Regions from separate parts of the Homo sapiens genome. Here all the other regions are linked to region 3. Evidence: promoter capture Hi-C in 16 types of primary human blood cells and fetal thymus (Javierre and others, 2016). All regions are on one chromosome and are shown on one strand. Each heading gives the region's core, a stretch centred on a gene start or on the middle of the fragment in contact. The rest is flanking DNA. Distances are from core to core; before and after follow the strand shown. Region 1 overlaps VPS26C (VPS26 endosomal protein sorting factor C). Region 2 holds the start of DYRK1A (dual specificity tyrosine phosphorylation regulated kinase 1A). Region 3 holds the start of PSMG1 (proteasome assembly chaperone 1).

Region 1 (3,608 bases), core at 11-2,510, 1.9 Mb after region 3:
ACGCGTTCCTTTTTTCATCAGGTCGTTGTTATACAGACAGGCAGTGCTTTTACTGCATGTGGCTACACCCCCACCCCAACCCAGTTACTTTTCTAGGTTTAAGCTTCCGTTCAGAAAACAAACTGACTTGTTAGCCATCGGCTAGGTGGGCTGACCTGCGTCCCCTCCCCGAGAGCACACAGGCCAGACGCTTCGGAAGAGCGTGGTCCACACGTCACCTGCGAACAGGGACTCGCCCACGAGAAGCCGCTACGGCCTCAGAGGGAACCTTGCCTGTTTGCCTGTCCAGAGCGCAGGGAGAGGTCAGTTGACCTCAGATCCTGATCCTTTTTTACTTTTTCCAGAACATTTTCTAGATCAGTTGTTTACAGACCTCATTTTGGGAAACCGCACTTCCTATTTTTACATATATTTGCTTTTTTTTGTTTGTTTTTTTGTGTTTTGTTTTTTTGAGACAGAGCCTCACTCTGTCACCCAGGCTGGAGTGCAGTGGTACAGTCTCAGCTCACTGCAGCCTCCACCTCCCAGGCTCAAGCGATTCTCCTGCCTCAGCCTCCCGAGTAGCTGGGATTACAGGTGCGTGCTACCACGCTTGGCTAATTTTTTATTTGTAGAGACAGGGTTTCTGCATGTTGCCCAGGCTGGTCTCAAACCCCTGGGCTCAAGCGATCTTCTGGTCTCAGCCTCCCAACCACCATGCCCAACTCCATATTTACATTTTTAAATTATAAAATGGTAAAACTTTATTATCAGGAATAAAAGAAAAAAGTATGTCATACAAACGCAAATATGTAAAGATGTAATTTTTGTAAAGTACTTCTTCTTGTCCTCTAACTTAGCTACACAGAACACTTTATGGACATGTTTACATGGTGAGCAGCCATGAAAAAGACTGCCTGGGCTTTTTACTCTCTGTAATAGAGAGCTTGTGCCGTCACTTGTTGGCAGAAAACAAATCCAGGCTCAGAGAAATAGTGCCTTTCCAAGGTGATAGAAAATAGATTTTACCTTTCATCTGGTAAGTTACAAATGGTTGTTTCCTTATAAATAAGTCAATAAAATGAACATCGTTTAGCATAAAGATTTTCCAAAAAAGCAATGAAACCCTTTTATTAAATGAAGTCTTATATAAAATTCTAATGTCAATTTTAATAATACATATTAAAATACTTTATTTTATAAACAGATAAAAGCAGAGCTGTTCTACTTTAAGTGAGAATATCTATTTCCTCCCTCCCTTCCCTGACTCTTCCTCACATCCCAAAGTGGCTGCTGAGGTGTCTTCACAGGCCTACGGCCAGTGGTTCTCTTGTAAAGTATTAGTTATAGGATGTTGTGACTAGCAAGAGGCAACAAAGTTGAAGTTTTTTCATGCCAACCCATTTAATTTGGTCCTGTGTCAAAACTTACAAGTTCTGTTAGCTTTCAGATATAATACAGTGCCTAGGGCCGGGCACGGTGGCTCATGCCTGTAATCCCAGCACTTTGGGAGGCCGAGGCAGGCAGATCACCTGAGGTCAGGAGTTCAAGACCATCCTGAACAACATGAAGAAACCCTGTCTCTACTAAAAATACAAAAATTAGCCTAGTGTGGTGGCGGGCACCTGTAATCCCAGCTACTCAGGAGGCTGAGGCAGGAGAATCACTTGAACCTGGGAGGCGGAGGTTATAGTGAGCTGAGATTGCACCACTGCACTCCAGCCTCTATCTAAAAAAAAAAAAAAAAAAAAATGCAGTGCATAGAATGAGGCTTTAAATATTTTGCCTTTATTTACTGGAGCATTTAAGCCAAAAAGGTACAGACCCACCAGTTTACTGACTATCCTTTGATAGTTTCTGCCATTTTCCTCCTGGAGAATTTACTCAGCTGGGGCTCTTGGACTAGCAGTCTCAGCAAAAGCTGGTGGGCTCTGGAGACCTTCACTGTTGTCCTACTTACTTGTCCTGGGAACTTGAGCTGGGAAGGACAACATGAGATTGTGGCCCTTTTGCTTCTGATAGGAACAAGCTGTCCTGACCCTGGATTACTGATGCTCAGACAGAATTGACCTCTGGGTAGCTGTGAGGGTTACACCTGCTGTGTGTGCTCTGATCCGTTGGGCAGGTCTCTGGTGGCCAGTAGCATTGGCTCACATGCTTTCCAGTGATGGTCGCGGTCCCTTCATCCTCACTACCGTTCCCCCATGACAGTGTCTTATTTACGTTTATGGTTTTACTGTCACATGCCAGGCATGATTTCAGCCCAAAATTAGCTCTTCCTTTGTTTTATCAGAAAGAATTATTTAAGACAATTTCTCTAAAACCCAAATCTTCACCTTTGGGAAAGGAGCAGCAAGCAGTCCTGTCAATGGAAAATTAGGAACCGATGGGCAGAAATCCCATTCTTCAGTAATCATCAGGAAAAAAACTAAGCTTTTTCTAATCTAAAAAAAATACAGTCATGATAGTTTGACCGTGTGTTTCAGATTTTAAAAAACCATTTTGTAAATTGAAAATATATATTTTTACTTGCTAAGAAAATGCAACTAATACAAAAGAATGTCTTCTGCCCCTTCTCCTCTGCTGCCCCATGAACAGTGCCCAGAATTAACCACATGACATTCTCTGCATCTCACAGTAGTTTCATAGAGCAGCCTTAGGTGATCTGTCCCCAGAGCCTACCCTGGATTAACCTGAAGCAGAGACCCTGTTCCGTACTGCTTAATTAACACGTGATCTACCCTACAGTGCTCTTTTTGCTGAGCTCTTTTTTTCTTTTCTTTTATTTATTTTTTTTTTCTAGACAGAGTTTTGCTCTTGTCACCCAGGCAGAATGCAATGTCTCAGCTCACTGCAGCCTCTGCCTCCTGGTTCAAGCAATTCTCCTGCCGCAGCCTCCCAAGTAGCTGGGATTACAGGTGCCCGCCACCATGCCTGGCTATTTTTTGTATTTTTAGTAGAGATGGGGTTTCATCATGCTGGCCAGGCTGGTCTTGAACTTGTGACCTTAGGTGATTCCCCTGCCCCAGCCTCCCAAAGTGCTGGGATTACAGGCGTGAGCCACCGCACCCAGCCTGAGCTCTTTCTTTCTTTACTTACTTGTTTTAGAGATGGGGTCTTGCACTGTTACGCAGGCTGGAGCACAGTGGCACAATCATAGCTCACTGCAGCCTTAAACTCCTGGTTTCAGGTGATCCTCCCATCCTAGCCTCCCAAAGTGGGTTGGGATTACAGTGCGAGCCACCCCACCTAACCGTGCTCTTGCTTTCTAACAAGGGCCCTTTAGGCTGTTAGCCTCATTTGCTGCTAGACTCATCTCTTGTCCTCTACTCTGAAGTTTGCCTGCATCCTGGCTTGGATTTGAATGCTGCACTATCGTGATTCATACATGATTTCACTCTGGGATTTCAATCTGCTGGCTCTTTGGTTGTTCATATATAAGTGTGGGCTGGCTCTACAGAGCATTTTCTTTGGCGGACTCCCTGTGTTCCACGGTCATTACTTTGGCCTGTAATTATGCCAATTCCAGGCTCCTTTGTAATTGGAGCCCTCCTAAATGTTTGGTTTATAGTCTGGAGTCTTTACATGCACTTATGCCAGTAGTTCCAAACGAATGTCAACTTTGTAAA
Region 2 (3,506 bases), core at 605-3,104, 1.8 Mb after region 3:
CGCCCGCACCCCCCGCTCGGGGTGTCCGCTCTCTGAGGCCGACCTGGGCCGCGATCAGCAGCAGCGACAGCAGCAGTCTCCCCGGATACCCCCGCCGCGGTTGCCGCCGCCACCCCCGCCTCACTCCAATGGGGCTTTTTATTATTATTCGGGCGGGAAGCGAAAGGGTTTAAAAAAAAACCAACCAACAAAATGGCGACGGACCGACCCGGTCGCTATAGCAACTGTCAATCAAAACGCAAAACCCCGGCTGACGTGCTGACGTCCTCCTCCCGCCCCCCAGCCCCGAGCCGGCGGGCGGGGCCTGTTGCTCAGGTAACGGCAGATTCCGTTCCCTCCTTTCCGTCTCCCCCTCTGTCCCCAGCCAACCACCCAACCCCCTCAGGTCACGTGAAGGATAAATTCGGAGCTCGGGTCCGCTACGAGTGTCAGAGGAGGGCGCGTGATTCGCCCGGGGGAGGGGAGAGGAGGGGGACGGCTAGGCCGAGGGAGGGTAGGGGCTGGGGAAGGGGGGGCGAGGCGGCGGCCAGGCCTGTGCGCGATCGCCCGCCGCCTCCCGGCCGCCCCGCCCCGCCCCGCGCCCGCGCCGACTGCGGCCCGGGGAGCGCGCGCGGCCTCCCGCGCCGCCGCCCCCGCAGCCCTAGCGCCCCGCGCTTCCGCGTCGGCGCCCGCAGCCCCGCCCGCGCCGGGGGGAGGGGCGGGCTGCCCCGGGCGGGGGAGGGGGAGGAGGAGGGGCGCCGCGGCCTTCGGGCGGGGACCCGGGAAGCCCACCCCGCGCGCCCGGGCCTGGAGGGCTCTCACCGCGGTCCGGGCGCCGCGCTCGCCTCTCTCCCCGGGAAGCGCGGCGGCCGCGACCGTCCGCGCGTGGAGCCGGTTCTTCGAAGGGCTGGCGGGCCTCCTAGCCGGAAAATGCCGGCGGAGGCCGTGGTGGGGGCGGGGAGGAGCCACCGCCGCGCCCCAGACATCGCAGGAATTCCGGACGCTGCGCCGGGCCCGGCGGCCCTGAGGCTGGCACCTGGCTCCGGTCGGGCCGCCCAGGTTTTGTGGCGCCCGAGACCAGCGTTGGGAAATTAGGCTGGAGCCATCATGAAAACTTTTTCAGGCAGTGCACGCTCGCCTGTGCCTGCCCATCTGCTTCCAACCTCTCCCCACCTTTCGGGGCGCAGCCTGCCTGCTCCATCGGAATGCCCTTTAGATGAATCCCCTTGTGCTGTTACTGTGTCCTTGTCGTCCAGCTCTCTGGTTTTCTTTTCTATACACCTTCTCGGTTTCCAGAGTCTTAATTCGCCTGCTTGTCCTTAACCATCAAAACTCTTTATTAATATCCTGGCTTTCGCTGATTTTTATTCTCCCTACCCCTTCTCCCTAGCTATGTATTGCTGGGTGAGCTCCCGAGGCTTGAAAACCCAAGTATGCTGTGCTGGCTGCGTTGTAATCGGTAGAGAGCCACCAGCTAAAAATTGTATTTTGTACCAACTCTAATGGCATTTAATAAATGTATACCTAAAAAGAGTGTGTGTGTATATATATACTATTTTACAGCAGAGTCACTAATTGATTTCTAAGCTTGATTTTGCCACCTTGTGATAGTGTTCGTAACCAATTTTTTTCATAAATTTCACAAATGTGACAACAGATAAAATCTTATAAACAATATTAGATGTAAAAAACTCGCAGTAAATGCCGCTGTCTATGCTACATGACTCAAATACACCTGCTTTAAATGATTTCCAGCAAAAATGTCCTTGCTACAGTTACTAGGACATTGATATACTAAGGTAACCATTCAGATTAGCACAGACTTTGAAAGAAATCCGACTAAACCGAAAATAAATTAGTCAAAAAGTAATTACTAAGGTAACCATTCAGATTAGCACAGACTTGGAAGAAACCTGACTAAACCGAAAATAAATTGGTCAAAAAGTGGTCGGGCAAATAGCTTGCTTTCAGGCTGATCTCCATGATATAAAAAAGTTGCCGTAGCTGGCAAAAGTTCTTTCGGATTATTGTTTCAAAATTGCCCTGCTAGTGTGATTAAGGTCCACGGTCAACTTAATTGTTTTGAAGAAAGAGGAAGTGGCCCAGAGCGCCCCTTATTCAGAGGAGAGGTCCCTACCTGGTTCCTCCCAAGCTCAAGCTTCCACCTATACAACCAACTTCTTCCTCTCTGCTTGTGGGTCTCCTTCCTGCCCCCACCCCATCCCACCCCATTCACCAAGCTTTCGCTTCTATCAGAGCACATCAGCATTTGCAACCTTTAATACTAAATTAAATTTGACTCAAATTTTTATTCCTGGTAATGGAAGAAACTTGTATAGTTAATCTTCCAGGTAACCTGAACAGAATATGATAATGTCTCAAGATATGTGTCCTTGTCTTCAGTTCAAATCAACCTAGAAGATATCGGAGTGGGGCAGAATCTTGAGATTATAAACATGCGGGTATAGAAGGCATTGCTGGTCTTCGTATCTAGAAGGCTGCACCCCTTTTCTCCCCAGTGTGACAGCCTTAGACAACATTGGTCAATGAATGTCATATCCAGGTTGGAATGCTGTAAAATGGTTTTATACAGGCTTCACCTAAAAACGTAACCTGTGAATTACAGCTGGCTCCAAACAAGTGACCACATGTAGGCCGGAAGGACTCTGGTATAGATGCCAGCTGACCTGGTTCACAGATGAAATCCTTGTCATCTAAGAATCTTCCCATTAGATTCACTTACAGATGTGTTTATTCATAGACTGTTCACCTTGAAAAGCAAAGGCCCTCAGCTCATAGGTAGTAACAGCCTCCACTTACCCAGCATGTTCTAGAGTATCTCTAATCCTCACAGCAACATTACATCCCCATTATGTGGATGAGAAAACAAGTCCTGAGTGATTACATGACTTTCTCAAGGCAGTCACCACTCACCAGTAAGTGGTGAAGCCAGGATTCAAACACAGGTATAATTGCAAAGCCCATGTTCTTTCTACCACACCAAGATGATTCAAGATTATATGGAGTTAGAGTCTTCACAGAGGTAATCGAGTTGGGTCTCTAGATTGAACCCTAATCCAAAATGACTGCTGCCCTTATAAAAAGGAGAAATTTGGACCAAGACAAACGAACACAGGGAAGAACGTACAGACACCAGGAGAAGGTGGCCATCTACAAACCAAGGCACACCTGAGGCTACCAGAAGCTGACAAAGAAGCATGGAACAGATTTTGTCTTACGGCCATCAGAGGGAACCAACCCTGCCAACATCTTGATTTTGGACTTCTGGCCTCCAGAAATTCAAGACAGTACATTTCTGTTGTTTAAGCCACCTAGTTGTTTGTACTTTGTAGTGGCACTAAGGGAAACTAACACACAGATGCGTGCCAAGATGGTGGTTTCTTTTGGTTGGCTTCATATCCGTTAGTGACCACTCCTGGTGAGGCACTATTCTAAGCCTGAAAGTCCAGTAGTTGGAATCTCGCTGAGAGTTATAACCCAAATAAATATTCCAAGGACAAACAAGC
Region 3 (3,947 bases), core at 1,368-3,867:
TTACTACAATCTCATCCCAACAAACTTTAATGGTAGCATGTTTGGCCTATTTCATTGTGGCCTGTACTAGGATTAGAAAATTTGGTCGTGGTATAACAAAGAAGTGTATTTACAATAGGATTTAATTTGTTGTTAATATGTATTTGTTGAAATTAAAATTGCCAGATTAAATGAATATACTGTCGCATCTTTTTAACATAGTAACGTGTTACTGGAAAAATTAAGTTGTTGAAAGTAAGTTGTTTTCCCATTTAAAAATATCTGAATATATGATTTGCATGTGTAAATCTGAAAAACTAAACTACAGAAACCTAGGGTTTTCTATTTCTTTTTTAAGTCAAATGCATTTTTTTTTTTTTGTTATACAGATGAACCAAGTGTCTAAAATACTTGAGAAATTTGTGGTTGCATGTCTGTTTTAAAAAAAAGGCTTTTTGTTTTTTAGCATAAGCCAGAATATTCTAACCTACTAAGTCTGTGTCCTTTGCTCCTTTTGTAGTATACTTTCATCTAAATTACTGATCCCCAATATGTTGATACACAGGTGAGAAAGGGAAGAATTCCTAATAAACTGCTATTACTTTTAGGTGCATGGGGTTTGATTTTTGAGCTCTAATGAAATGCTTAAACTTCTTTCCAGTTCAAATTTTACACTTAATTTATAATATTTATTGAGTATATTATGTCCTCAACAAGTAACTATAAAATGAAATACTTAACTCGGTGAAGACTATTTTATGCAAAGTTTTTTTTTTTTTTTTTTTTTTTTTTTAGCAATTTCAGTGTAATGAAAGAATTTAAGCTTTGAATTTATAATTTGCTGTGGTGGGGTTAATTTCTGTCAGTATTTGAGATTGTATTATCAGTCTTGCATAATGAAATCCTTTTTTGGCTAAGTATTTAATTCGAACATATTTGCCTTTTTAAAAAGTGCTTGGCCTAAACTTATTGTAACTGCATGAAATAAGCATTTGCTTAAAACTTAACATTGTAAAATTGTTCTCTCTGAAATGTGTGCAGAATTTAAATCATGGCCAAATGTATTACTATTACCCTATTTACAGTAATTTGCTTTGCAGAAAATATTTCTTCATCATGGAACTGTGAAATCAAATTGAAGATCTTACTGGTAAAAATGACAAATTAACAAAAGGACTAAGACAAGTGGTGCCCAAACAACCTTTTTATTCTGCAGTTCCATCATCATAATAGACCAGTTAACCCAGGAGTCCTAATGTTTTAAAACATCATTGTGGTGATCTTGTTTATTCTATCTCACTAAGGATATCCAGTTTCCTAAGCTCTTACTGGCTAGCAATTTCGTCTTAATTTTATTGCTAAATGTTCAAATTTTGCTTCCAAACTCACTTTATTTTTGCAGATGTGTACATCTGCTAAGTACTAATTTTATGTAAATGATTTTGTTGATTATCTTTCCACATCTTAAAATGTTTCTAACAGCTTTGAGATTTTATCTCAACAGGCTCTCTCTGACCCCAAAGTAGTACTTACCTTCGTGACTACTGACAAAGTCACAAAATGCAGGCGATGTCATGTATTTCGGTACAACTAAATCTAGGAAACGGTTTTTTCATTGCATTACTGCATATTTTCATTTTCATTTAAATTATGTCCCCTTTTTCTCTTGCTTGAAACAGTGCTCCTCGAACTTTGTCTTCCAGCACATTTTAAAGAGAACCAATTAAAGAACAATCACACATTCTGCTTATTAAAGGCTATTTAAAAAGAAACATTTTGTATTAGAAAATGGCCAACTTTAAAACACTATTTTTTACACTCATAAAAATGTTTTTTAAATCGCCTTGACAATCATCAGCTTTTGAAATGTGAATTCCTATTGCCAGAGTAAAGGTCTCGTTTTTATACCACCACGAAGCGCTGTATTTCTTGCTGCCCTTGCGTCCGCCCGTGCCCGCTGTCTGAGGGCGCGCCTGGCTACGGGGGCCCTCAGTACCACCGCGCCGCCACCTACCTGGGCAGTCGAAATTTGGAGCGGGTGCTCAGTACACTAATGCTACCCCAGTCTCTCCTAACGCAGAAGGAAAATGGAAACGGACGATGAGGGGACGGCCCCACAGCTCCCGGACGCCACGGCCAGCGGCGCTGGCTCCGCCCCTGCACCCCTGGTTCCGCTACCGCCACGAACGGAGGCCCCGCCCTCCTCTCGCCCCCTGCCCCTCTAGCCCGCAGTCCTCCCACCTCCTGGCGCCCGCAGGGCTCAAGCTGCGAATGAAAGCCTTTGGGGGCCGGACGCGGTGGCTGAGGCCTGTAATCCAAGCACTTTGGGAGGTCTAAGGAGGACGATCGCTAGAGTCCTGGAGTTCGAGACCAGTCTGGGCAACATAGCGAGACCCCCTCCCCCAATCTGTAATTTAAAAACAAAAAAGCTGCGGGGACTGCTGGCCCAGGGCATGACAGCGCGGGCGGGCGGTGTAGAGGGCGTGGCCGCGAGCTCAGGGTGTGCCTGGGAGCGAGCCCTGTGCGGGGCGGGACGTAGCGCCCGCGCGGTGGGGGTGTGGCCGCGAGCTTGGGCTGTGCGCGGAGGGCGTGGCCTGTGCGGGGCGGGACTTATTGCCCGCGCGGTGAGGGAGCGTGGTCTCGCGCAAGCCGGCGTGCGGTCCCGCGGCGCTGCAGTTGTGTCCAGCCGGTCACGGGGCGGCTATGGCGGCCACGTTCTTCGGAGAGGTGGTGAAGGCGCCGTGCCGAGCTGGGACTGAGGACGAAGAGGAGGAGGAGGAGGGGCGGAGGGAGACGCCCGAGGACAGGGAGGTGCGTCTGCAGCTGGCGCGGAAGAGGTGAGGCACCGGGATAAGGGCAGCGCGCTCACCGCAGCTGGAAGGTGCGCGGGCCTGGCAGCCGCGACGGCGCCTAAGGCCGGGGCTCCGCGGTCTTCCGAGTGGCCCCCGCGGTTGCCGCCGCTCCTTGGCTCTGCTTGGGCCCTGGGTCTCCGTGAAGCCGCGGCGTCCAGCGGCGCCAGCCCCAGGTGTGTGTGGTTCTCGCGTGGATCTGCTGGCGTTTCGTGGAGTCCAGGGTGAAGCCGCTGTGGGAGGGCTGGGTTCAAATCCGTTCTTTAAAGGCTTTCTGGAGCGTTTCTGGAGCATTTCTGGAGGCTTGGTGTCTTGCGGACTCGTGATCTTCCCGCTTGTCACACTGTCTTGGGCCGCAGCGCTCCCGCGGGCCCCACCACGTTTGTCGTGGATTGTTCACGGACACACCAATTCCCTCGAAACTTTTTAAACCTGCACCCAACACTTCAATTAGCATGATGTGTCAGTAGCCGATGAACACGCTTTAAAAAAATTGTTTCCAAACACAAAAAAGTGGGAGAAAATAGTCAAGTGAGCCCTGACCCCTACACAACCGGGTAAATTCAACAGGAAGATTTTGCCACGTTTATTTTCTCTCCCGCCACTCCTAAGCGAATTCCAGTCATCATGGCCTTTCACCTCTACATTTTTCAGAATACATCTCAAACGTTTTAGGGATTTTCTTACATATGCTATTATCACCCCTAACAACACTAATACTAATTTTCCAGTATCATTTTGTAGTCCATGCTCACTCACGTTTACCTAGTTTTTTCAAACATGACATTTTACAGTGGTCTGCGTGAATGAGAATCCTAACAGGGTCCACAGGTTACATTTAGACGTGTCACTTCATTTAGAGCAACCTCCTCTTACCCCTCCTAAGAGACAGGACTGATTGTCTTGTCCAGTGCCCCCACACTCTGAATTTGTCTGATAGCTTCGTTGTGGTGTCACTTAACGTTTGTATCACCTGCATGTCCTGTAAAATGAATGTTCATTTGGAGGCTTGGTCAGATTCTCATTCAAAGTTTTGTCGGCAAGAATGCTTCTACTAAGTGGTGCTTTCTGTTTCTTATTGCAGGCTATCCCCAGCTGTCTCACTTTTAGGGATGCTAA

The links. The method cuts DNA at HindIII sites, captures the fragments that hold promoters and counts their contacts. A CHiCAGO score of 5 or more calls a contact.
Region 1: a fragment that was not itself captured here is called in contact with the fragment with the promoter of PSMG1 in region 3 in 1 of 17 cell types (fetal thymus); the score reaches 6.3 in fetal thymus.
Region 2: a contact is called between a fragment that was not itself captured here and the fragment with the promoter of PSMG1 in region 3, in 2 of 17 cell types (total B cells and fetal thymus). The highest score is 7.7, in total B cells.

Annotation. Positions count from the first base shown.
Region 1 is chr21:37,253,975-37,257,582 of GRCh38, reverse strand. The region is part of intron 1 of VPS26C (VPS26 endosomal protein sorting factor C); the gene reads left to right. Among named protein-coding and RNA genes, the nearest start is that of VPS26C, 12 kb to the left of the region's middle. RefSeq lists enhancers at 1-109, 195-294. The HindIII fragment of the contact is 2,309 bases long and covers 106-2,414 here.
Region 2 is chr21:37,363,481-37,366,986 of GRCh38, reverse strand. It overlaps DYRK1A (dual specificity tyrosine phosphorylation regulated kinase 1A), which reads right to left and starts at 214. Exons shown (of 12, transcript NM_001347721.2): 1 at 1-214. RefSeq lists silencers at 482-791, 822-1,001 and enhancers at 1,142-1,221, 753-1,678. The HindIII fragment of the contact is 571 bases long and covers 1,569-2,139 here.
Region 3 is chr21:39,182,121-39,186,067 of GRCh38, reverse strand. It overlaps PSMG1 (proteasome assembly chaperone 1), which reads left to right and starts at 2,617. Exons shown (of 7, transcript NM_003720.4): 1 at 2,617-2,816. The coding sequence starts at 2,683. It overlaps BRWD1 (bromodomain and WD repeat domain containing 1), which reads left to right. Exons shown (of 41, transcript NM_033656.4): 41 at 1-586. RefSeq lists silencers at 2,442-2,661, 2,862-2,941. The HindIII fragment of the contact is 4,125 bases long and covers 805-3,947 here.